2 separate regions of the Homo sapiens genome follow, and region 1 is linked to region 2. The links are contacts of gene promoters, found by promoter capture Hi-C in human tissues and cell types (Jung and others, 2019). All regions are on one chromosome and are shown on one strand. The core of a region is centred on a gene start or on the middle of the fragment in contact, and the rest is flanking DNA. Distances in the headings are between cores, read along the strand shown. Region 1 overlaps TANC2 (tetratricopeptide repeat, ankyrin repeat and coiled-coil containing 2). Region 2 holds the start of MRC2 (mannose receptor C-type 2).

Evidence for each region. Contacts are between HindIII fragments. The study calls those that stand out against the background at their distance.
Region 1: a fragment that was not itself captured here is called in contact with the fragment with the promoter of MRC2 in region 2 in 1 of the 25 tissues and cell types used here (dorsolateral prefrontal cortex).

Annotation. Positions count from the first base shown.
Region 1 is chr17:63,113,418-63,118,346 of GRCh38, reverse strand. All of the region lies in intron 4 of TANC2 (tetratricopeptide repeat, ankyrin repeat and coiled-coil containing 2), which reads right to left. Among named protein-coding and RNA genes, the nearest start is that of TANC2, 150 kb to the right of the region's middle. The HindIII fragment of the contact is 3,905 bases long and covers 559-4,463 here.
Region 2 is chr17:62,626,063-62,631,039 of GRCh38, reverse strand. It overlaps MRC2 (mannose receptor C-type 2), which reads right to left and starts at 3,370. Exons shown (of 30, transcript NM_006039.5): 1 at 3,120-3,370. The coding sequence starts at 3,237. LOC107985020 (a long non-coding RNA gene) reads left to right here and starts at 2,990. Exons shown (of 2, transcript XR_001752961.3): 1 at 2,990-3,195; 2 at 4,031-4,603. RefSeq lists enhancers at 1-489, 4,644-4,977 and silencers at 2,741-2,810, 3,011-3,450. The HindIII fragment of the contact is 9,538 bases long and covers 1-4,977 here.

The DNA.
Region 1 (4,929 bases), core at 1,262-3,761, 490 kb before region 2:
AACAAAGGTAAATTTCTAATTTAGTCTAAACTCAACTGAGAAAATAAGACAATAAATATCATAACTTGCAAATTGTGTTGTTAAAAAAAATTCTTAAACTAAGAAAGTCCATTTGTAAACACTCCAGTTAATGAAATAACAAGAATGATTTTATGTATTAAGAAAGCTTGTTTACAAAATTCTAGATTTCCATATTGTTATTTTTTAAAAAAGGTATTTTATTTATAAGGATACTGCAACAGGAAGTAGAGCTCTATTCTGGAATTGCAATCTAACAGGAGAGACAATCTAACCTTCACATTTACATTGAAAAATTGAGTTTTTAACAGGCTTCTCTGCAATGCATATTCTTTTTTAAAATATAAAACCATTTCAAAAGGTTCATATATGCATATAAATATATAAAGCAAAAGAACACACAATTAAAAATTAAATAAATGTGCCAAAATACAGCTTCTTAATGGCTTCCTTGAAAACTAGATGTCAAATTATCTTAGGCTGTGTTTATTTTTCTATAAAGAACAAAGTAGACTTTACAGCTCAGAAATCCACGTAACAAATACTCTACTCATCATACTCACAGGTTTTAGTTTTTCTTCCTCACTAGTCAATACTACAGAGTCTTTTCCCCTAGAAAAGCTGAAAGGCTTCTTATTCACTGGTCATGTTGTTATCAGACCTGACACATCAGGAATGACCCACACTTTAATCTCCAGCCAGCTCTTTACGCTGCCCAGAACTTACTGTGCGTTACAGGTGATACTTCTTATAGCAGATGTTGATTATGGTCCCAAAGCACAAGAGATGCTCCCAAAGGGGTTTAGAACCCCTAACAACATCACCTGCTTCTTTTTGTATCCAGAGAAGCACTGTGGTATTCTGTTTTGAACAACTAATGATTTCAAGAGATTACACAGACGAGTTCTTTTCATTAGATTGGTTGACATAAGCTTGTCCTTTCAGAATACTGCAGCAAATATAGGTTGTATGATTCCATTAGGATAAAAGAAATATTTTTACACAATTTTTCTCTGTGGCGCAGTTTAGTTCACCCTCTGTTAGAGCAAATTACTGGAAGAACTGGTTCTTAGGTTTCTAATGGCGCAGCGTTAACAGAGTGAATGATTCACGGATGTTCTTCTTAACATTCAGGAGTAACAAGGAAGGCTAGCAGTGCAGCCCAGGTCCAGAGCTGATGAATGGTGCAGTGCTGCTGTTGTCATAGCAACCAAGAGGAAAAAAGCAGCACCATATAAGGATCTGTGACATGGATTCTGGGAACAATTTATATTAAAAAGCTGTAAGCTCCTCATGCCTTAAAGCTGTAAACTCCTCTCTTACTGTTTCCTTCTCATGTTTTGCTCTTCTGATTTTCTGAATCAGAGCTGTGTGAATATACGCTGTAAAACAGTTACTTAGTAGGCACCAACAAAAAATGCAATTGAGGTAATTTAAAATATTAATACTTTAGCAAGCTAATATAGGTCTGCAGTATCTCCATAATTTATTAAGTGTTAAAATTATACAGTGATTTTGTTGCAATGTAAGGAACTGTCTAGAGTTTGAGATAGCAGAAAATTCATTTTTAAATACTTAGAGATATTAAAACCCTAATTAAATGCCTTTCATTCAGATGGTATGCATCAGATATGCCAAAACTGCAGCACTATCAACTGATTGACTAATAAAGTAGCAATGACACCAATTTCAAAGAGAGGCATACTATCACCTGTATTCCTTCTAGATAAAGAAAGTTTCAAAAGACACTTACTTCACTAAAAATGCTCATAGCCTTCATTCATGAACAAGAAAACTTCTCCGTCAATCACTTGTAAGACAGGGTTACTGGTCCACTCCATGCTTCTAAAGGCCTCTCCCTAACTGGGCCTGGACAATCGTTTTCTTGTCATAGTTTTCCCTCACCTCCCAGGAATTAGGAAGAGCTCCCCCTTCCAGGGGATAGTAGGATAGCTTCCAAACGGTATCACAGGAGAAGAGGGAGCCAGTGAAAGCACCAATGCATAGAATTGTCGTAATGGTACTCTCTCTATAGTCTTCTGGATGTTGCTCTGAGATGACTGGTGCAGAAAAATATCTTTCATTAGATTTATTAAGCATGGGTCACTGATGCTATGATATTTCATCTATTTATATAGGGTAGTTCTATATGAAATTGTTCTATATCATATCTCTGTGTTACTTTTCCATCACCATTTATTTAATGCAATATTCAGATACAATACAAAGCAAAATATTAGGTAAATTTACCTATTATACCATTCTCTTACATGGGCAACACTGCCATTATAATACCAATTCTGGAAAAGTTACGTATTTGTTGGTCATAGATTTATGATGCATTTATCTCCATAAATGAAGAACCTCAGTAAAATGTGACTAAAAAGAATTGCAATGTAGTGGGATGGACATGCATTTGACTAGTCTTGACTGTAGTTGGACTAACAGCTTTGCTACTTCTAAATATAACCCTGAGTAAGGCACCTAACTACTCTGACCCACTGATTCATCTCAGTAAAGCATTTTCTACCTTATTCCTAAAGCTACTGTGGGAATAGAAAAAAATAAATACAAAGCAAAGGCTTAAAATTCTAAACATCTATATTATCTTTTTTAATAGTATCTAAGCAAAACAGCAAAGAAAAATGAAAAGTGGAATTTCAATAGAACTCCATAAACACAGAAAATTGCCTGAAAGGGTAAATATTTTTCCAGGCTAGGTTTTATGTTTGACTGGATATTGTGTCCCATCACACTGCATATACTTTTCACAAGTAGCTAGTAGCTATTTCTTTTTAGAATTATAGTAGATACAGATACTGCGGACTAGCGTTCAAGGATTATTTAATATAATAATGTACAAGTAATTCTACTGCCTCAACATGACTTATAAATGTCTTCAGAAAATAGTAACTTGGTAATAAAGAAGTATAAGTGGTTTCTATGGAATGGTTAATATCAAAGAACATGCAAAGTGATTGAGTTGTTTAAAATAACCTATTACTTTTTATCCTACCTAACTAGAAAACTGTAGGGCAAACTCAAAAATGAGCTATTATGTTTGACTTGGAAATTCCATGGACAGCCTATCTCATTCTGTTTCCTGGATAATCTAATCTCTTCTACCTAGTAAGTTTTTTAACTCAAATATTGTCTTGTGCCAGTAGTTATTTTTGAGGGAAATTCTCTTCAGTTGTGACTTTTTAGAATACTAATTATTCAATATCTTAGGTAAAAAGAGCAACTTTCTCTCCCACCTCCCCATCATCAAGTCATGTTGAGCAGATCTTTGCATTAGAGAGATACCAGAAAAGTTCTGCAAAAAATGTAAACTTGGACAACAAATAATTTTTTCTAACGTTGCTTATGCTGTGTAGGAGCTAACTGGGATGAGGACATGATTAAAATACTTCAAAAGACAAAGTACACAGGTTTTGTTTTGCTTGAAAAATTGGATTTAACTTAAGGGTGGAGAGAGATTTAAGGAGTTAAGCTCTTCCCCTTGGTTACTAATTTTTAACTCCTTTATGATTAATTTAGGTAAGTCATGCTAAAACTTATACAGTTTTACATTCTTTTTTATTTTTATTCTTTTTTCAGTCTTGCTATATTAAAAGCTTTCTCTAAGGAGTAATCATCCGTGCTAAACTCTATTGTGCTTAAAGGTAGGGTAATATTTATGAAGAGATGTACATACGAAATCTCTATTCTCACAGGAGTTAAGAAAGTAACCATTCTACTAGCTATAGCAATTCAAGCTTTGGCCAACTTTCTACGCGGGGTTGTGTCTTTCCTAGCAATGGCTACTGCTTCAGATCAGGACTTCAATCTGCAGCAGTAGGGTAATGAGTGACAGAGAAGAAAAAGAAATATATTCTTAAAAATCATATATGTGATCCCTATACATCAGCCAACTACTTCATCTGGTGGTCAAAGAAAAAGAGAGTAAAGAGTAAAATAGTTACAACTCTAAAGGATAAACTGGCAGGGTTGGATATACTGAGAAGCAGTATTTCTGTTTAATGAATGTCGTGAATGATATGTAATGGATTTCTGAGGATAATTTTCTTTATACTCAGTTTTTATTTTATATGTTGACTTTACTATCTAAACCCTGAATAAAATTATCCCAAATGTGTGATGCTACCTCTAAATGATAATTGTAACATTTGAAAAAGGTCATGAGTTGGCAGGTGGTTCTTTCAGAATGTTTTTATTGATAAGCAGGGCATAAAAGGGCATACTGAGCCATAAGATACACATATCAAATCTCCTTTCTCTCACTTTACTTACTTCATTAATCTAAAGTTATAAAATTTACTGAATGATATAGATGTATACATAATTTTTTCTAAAAATCGTTTTCAGAAATCAGAAACATGAACATTAACCAGAAATGGGGAAAACAGAGATGTTCAACCAACTCTGGTATAACTCAAAACACTGCTCATTGTGCTATCTAAACAAAGTCATCAAAACAGATAATACCACATAGACAATTCTAAAATGACCATATTTCTTGGCTGGGCACAGTGGTTCACACCTGTAATCTCAGTGCTTTGGGAGACCGAGGTGAGAGGGTTGCTTGAGCCCAGGACTTTAGACCAGCCTGGGCAACATAGCAAGACCCCATCTCTACAAAATAATGAAAAAATTAGCCAGGTATGGTGGTGCACGCCTGTAGTCCCAGCTACTCAGGAGGCTGAGGTGGGAAGATCTCTTGACCCCAGGAGGTTGAGGCTGCAATGAGCAGTGATTGTGCCACCACACTCCAGTCTGGGTGACAAAGCAGGACTCTGTGTCTTAAGAAAAAAATAAGTAAAATGAAATAACCACATTTCTTAACTTTTGAAATTCTGCCCACGACATGAATGACTGACGGACAAGGTAAGGATGCGCATTTACAATTAA
Region 2 (4,977 bases), core at 2,121-4,620:
CCTCCCCTCCATGTACCCTCACCTTGCCCAGGTGAACCCAGAAGAGAGCCAGGATCCCAGCACTAGCCACAGCTCGGCTGGGCACCTCCTGGGCCCTGATGACTCACAGAGAGCCAGAGGGTTGGAGCAAGGAAAACTGAGTTTTGCGTGGGGGAACAGTAAGAAGTTTCCGAACCCCACGACTCAGCAGAAGCTGGGCCAGAAGTGTAGGGAGCTGGTCTGGCTGACTCTGGTCAGAGCCCCAAGTACCCGATGCCACCCTCCCTGTCCTTTAGGCAGCACCGACCTTCCCCACAGGAAGATTTCCTGAGGTCTCCTCACCCCATGGCCTTGAGACTTGATCCCTGGAGCTCCCAGAAGCCCCTTTCCCAGCAACTATCCCCTCATTCCTCTGCTCGGAAACCTCCAAGGGTCCCCTGGGGTTCCCCACAGCCAGCTTGCAGGTCCCATCCCCATTCTGGCCTCCCAGGCACCTCTTTCACTCAACCTTCTCCCCGGCCCAGCCAGCAAGCTTCCACATCATCCCCAGAAGAGCCCAGCCTGGTGGCCCCTTCCTGCCTCTCTCCAGACAGCCTTGGCCACCCTTTGGCCCATACGGTCTCTCCTGCCTCCAATCTCCAGACGGGAAGCATCCACACTCCAGCCTTTCACTTACTAGGGGTGTGACCAATGTAAATGATCAGACCCCTCTTAGCCTTCATTTCCTGAACTGCAAAAATGGTCCAACAATAACCATCTCCTTGGGTTGTTATCAAAATGAAATGGGAACTTGCACATGAAGGGTTGAGCGTGGGTCTGGGCAGGCAGGCATCCCACCAATGGCATTCTGCCCCCTACGCAGTTCACTGTTCCACGTTTCATTCTCCCACACGATTTTCTTTTTCCAGAGGATGCATCTTACACTCTTCTCTACCTTCCCTCCTCCCCAAGAACTTGGCTCAAGGCTGAGCAAACTGCATGCTCCAGAAATGCGGTAATATGGCAACTAACAAAGAGGACTCCTTCCAGTGACAGTCTCCGCGGGCCACTCCACCAAGGTGGAGAAAAGATGGATTCCACCATCACGCACCAAGAAGGCACTGCCGCCTCGCTGCCCCTGCCCCGTGCTCTGGGCACACAGGGCTCCCCCATGGTGGTCAGGAAACTGCCCACACGCAGCCCCTGCCCTGCCTGGCATAAGCCTCGCCCCCAGCAGCACTGGCCTGCCACACCCTACCTCCCACATGCATTTCCTGGGCTATTTGGTCTCTGGTGCTGGTGAATTCCTCCCAACAACAACGTAATTCACCAGGTACTAGGGGCTGCCAGCTCTTCGGGCAAGGAATTCGGCCCAGAGGCTCTGAACAGGCTTCCCAGGGTAGGGCCCAGTGGAATTTGGCAGGGCAGGGGCAAGCGCACTCTGTGCAGAGGGCACGGTTCCGAGGGAAGGAACCTGCAGCAGCTCCATCCTCCTCCTGCTCAGCTGCTGCTGGAAGACCTCACACTGCCTGCCACCCAGATCCAAGCCTCCTCAGGGTGTGGTCAATGCAGTGCCAACGGGAAGGGGACCCTCTGAGGCTATTCATCCCTGGACACAGCCCCAGGGAGGGCCAGGCACAGAGACCAGGAGGAGGAGGGACACTCCAGGCGTCCTTGTCCTCCCTGACCGGGCCTCTCACCAGGCACTTCCAGCCCCCTCTATGAAAAGCTCCAGGGGGAAAGGCCGAGTCAGCACTCTGGCCACAACTCTCTCCCAGGGCCTGGCTTTAAAGTGTGCTCTGGAGCTCTGGGAATGGCCATCCTCCCCACCCCTTCCCACCGCCTGCCTCCTGAGGCCCTGCGCAGAGGAGCAGAGGAAGGCAGGAGTGCGAGGAGGTAGGGGAACTGCCTGTGAGGCCGCCCTGCAGTGGGTTAGGGGGTTACCCGGCCTGGTTTGTGTCTGTCCCACATTCAATGCCAGGTGGGCCCAGAATTGCCCCGGGGGTCTCCGGTTGGTGTGAATGTGGGTCACCGTGGCCCCCACCTTTCCCATCTGGCAGATATGTGTCTTGTGCCTACGTCACGCCAGGCCAACCCAGCAAGCACGGGCCAGGCTGGAGGCCCCAGACTCTCCAGGGGGCTGTCTGGTCCTTGCACAAAACTGCAGACACTGCACGGACTGTCCCCATCCCCCAATTAAACAGCCAGCAGGACCAAGCTGGGCCGGGCGATTCCCCCGGTCACTCCAGACACCCCCACCCCCACTCCCCCAGGAAGTGGATCTTTCCTTTCAACTCTTAGATTCTTGGCGAGGGATCTGTCTGTCCCCACACTTCACTGTTACCCCTGAATAAGGAGCAGGAAGAGAATGGCACAGTTTTGGGGTTTTCTGATTTTTGTTTTGTTTCCTGTTCGTTGGGTTTTAAAATCTTTAGCAGCTCTTTTGCCGCTCAAGGTCTGTCCCCTCTGGAGGGCCACTAGTGTGCCCAGAGCTGCCCACGCTACGCAACATCACAGCACGGCGGCGCCCAGCCTGTTGCTGCGTCCCAGTGGCAGGAGCCTCCTCACAGGGCTGCCGAGCTCACGCGGGGCGGATGCCGCGCGCCACAAGCCTCCTTGAAGACTAAGTGTGGAAAAGAAAATATCAACGCCCACGAGATGCAGGGGGCGGGGGGAAGGTGGGGGAAACGAACCCTCGCGGATAGTTGGAAAGCCGTCCTAACGCATCAGTCCTGGGGCAGAGCGAGGAGACTGGGCCCGGGAACTCCCGGACAGAGAGCCCTGGCTCCCCGGGCGCGCCCTGCAGGTCCCCTGCCGAGGACGGGCCGGCGCCGGGTGGTCCGGGAGCGCGGTGCGCGGGGGTCCTCAAGAGCCCACCCGCTTCCTCCTAGGCTGCTGGAGTCCCCCGGGCTCCCCTCCCCCGCCGCCCGCCACATCTGGTTCCACTCAGGTCCTCCCCCACCTCTAGGCGCGCTCCTCCTCCCCTCTCCTCCCCCGCTTTCAGAAAAGCGGAGACGAGTTTTAAAAACCCAGTCACACACACACGCACACACGCTTCTGGAGAAAAGAGGGGGGAAAAGGAGGGAAAAGTCGAGAGCGGCCCGCGCCTCGGCGCTCCCCCCGCCCGGGCCCTGAAGTTGGCCAAGTTGGCAGCGCCTTACCCGGGAGGGCGGCGTCCCCAGGGGCGCCGGGACGGCCGAGGTGCAGGCACCCGAGGAGCAGGACGCAGCGCAGCAGGTGACGAGGCCAGGGCGCGGGGGCCGGCCGGCCGGGCCCCATCCCCGAGCGCGGCGCTCAGTGGACGCGGGGACCGAGGGCGCACAGGCGCAACGCGCTGTGGCAGCCCCGAGGCTGGGCTGTGATGACCGCCCGCAAGGGGCTCGCGTCCTCCTCCGGGTCGGGACGAAGTGATGCCTCCCGGGGAGGAGGAGGGAGGAGGCAGCCCGGGCGGAGGGAGGGCGGAGGGAGGAGCGCAGAACCGGGGAGGAGGGTTCGAGGGGTAGAGGGGAAGGGAAGTGGGCAGCGTGGGAGGGGAAGGGGAGGAGGCGCGGGTCTGGGGCTAGAGCGTCGGGAGGGAGAGAAAGGGGTGGCGGAGAGGAGGACACGCCGGGTCCAGGAGGACCCCAGCGTGCGCCCTTTCTCTTGCTGCTCTGTTTCCCAGTCTCTCCCCGCCTCGCCTTCCCTCTCTTCTGTCCCGGCCAGGATCCCCAGACGCTGCGTCACAACTCCCCCGCTGGCGCGGGCGGGGAAGCAACTGCAAAACTTTCCGCAAACTTCACGGCGTGGTGGGACCTGGGCTACGAGGTCCGGCCAGCCCGGGGCGGGGGCGTGCAGCTGACCCAGGTGGCCAGACCCGGGCCGCCAGCATCCGCCCCGCCATCCCGCCTCTTTCTGCGGGCGTCTCCAGCAGCCTAGCATCCCCTACCTCCATGCCGAGGAGGACCCCTCCCCCGGTCTGGTGGGGAAGGGGCGGAGCCCAGGGCCTGGCCACCAGGGCGAAGATTGGGGGAGGGGGAGGCAGAGCCCTTGTTACGTGTGCGGAGCGCAACAATTCTTGCACGTCTTGTTTTAGCATTTTCGTGACCCCTGTGTCAGTGTTCCCGGTGCAGGAGTGTAGCACTTTTGCTTGTTGGGGCTGCATCCAGAAACCTGGGGAAAATCTGTCCACTGGACGTCTCAGAAGACCGGCATCATCACTCCCACCAACTGGACTGCTGGCCGGTAGCAAAAGACCAGCTGGAAATTTCATAAAAGGTTAGACAATCCACAGTTACTCAGTGTTACGCAACAGGTCTCTGCAGCACAGAGCACGAACTGGGGAGTCAGGATGCTGGAGTCCAGCCCTGCCTCTCTGCGGATTCCCTGCCTGACCTTGGGAAAGCCTCTTGGGGTCTCGGGGCATAGGGCAGGACTGAGACGTTGAGACCCCAAGTGCAAAGAAGACACATTTCTCCTACCACGAGTAATCAAAAACACTATGAAACTGTAATATGGGCCGGGTGCGGTGGCTCACGCCTGTAATCACACTTTCGGAGGCCGAGGAGATTGAGCCCAGGAGTTGAAGACCAGCCTGGGCAACATAGGCAGATCCCATCTCATTTTGTTAATATAAAATTTTTAAATAATAATAAAACTGTAATATAAATTGTATTGTTTCCTATCTTGTCCACCTTGGTATGTTTTTTGGAAATAAATTCAATTTTTTTCCTTTTTATTCCTCCTATCTTGGGTAAATGTTTCCCCAACTCTGCAGTGGGGGTGTTGGGTCAGAAATGCTCACTCGTCTCTTCCCATCTCTGTCAGGCTGAGGCTCTTGGTAAACAGTCCAGTGGTAATAGAGCCTCGAAGCAAGCCCCCACTGAAATCCCCTAGAGGCCCCTGGAAAGGGTCCCATTAGCCACCCTTTGGTTAGCAGCCAGACCAACAAAGCCCCTGCACTCCACGGCTAGCTTCAGCAGGTCCGACAGGGCCAGGTCCCTTCTGGTGGCTGTGGCTCCACTGCCCCTTGGGACATGTCTT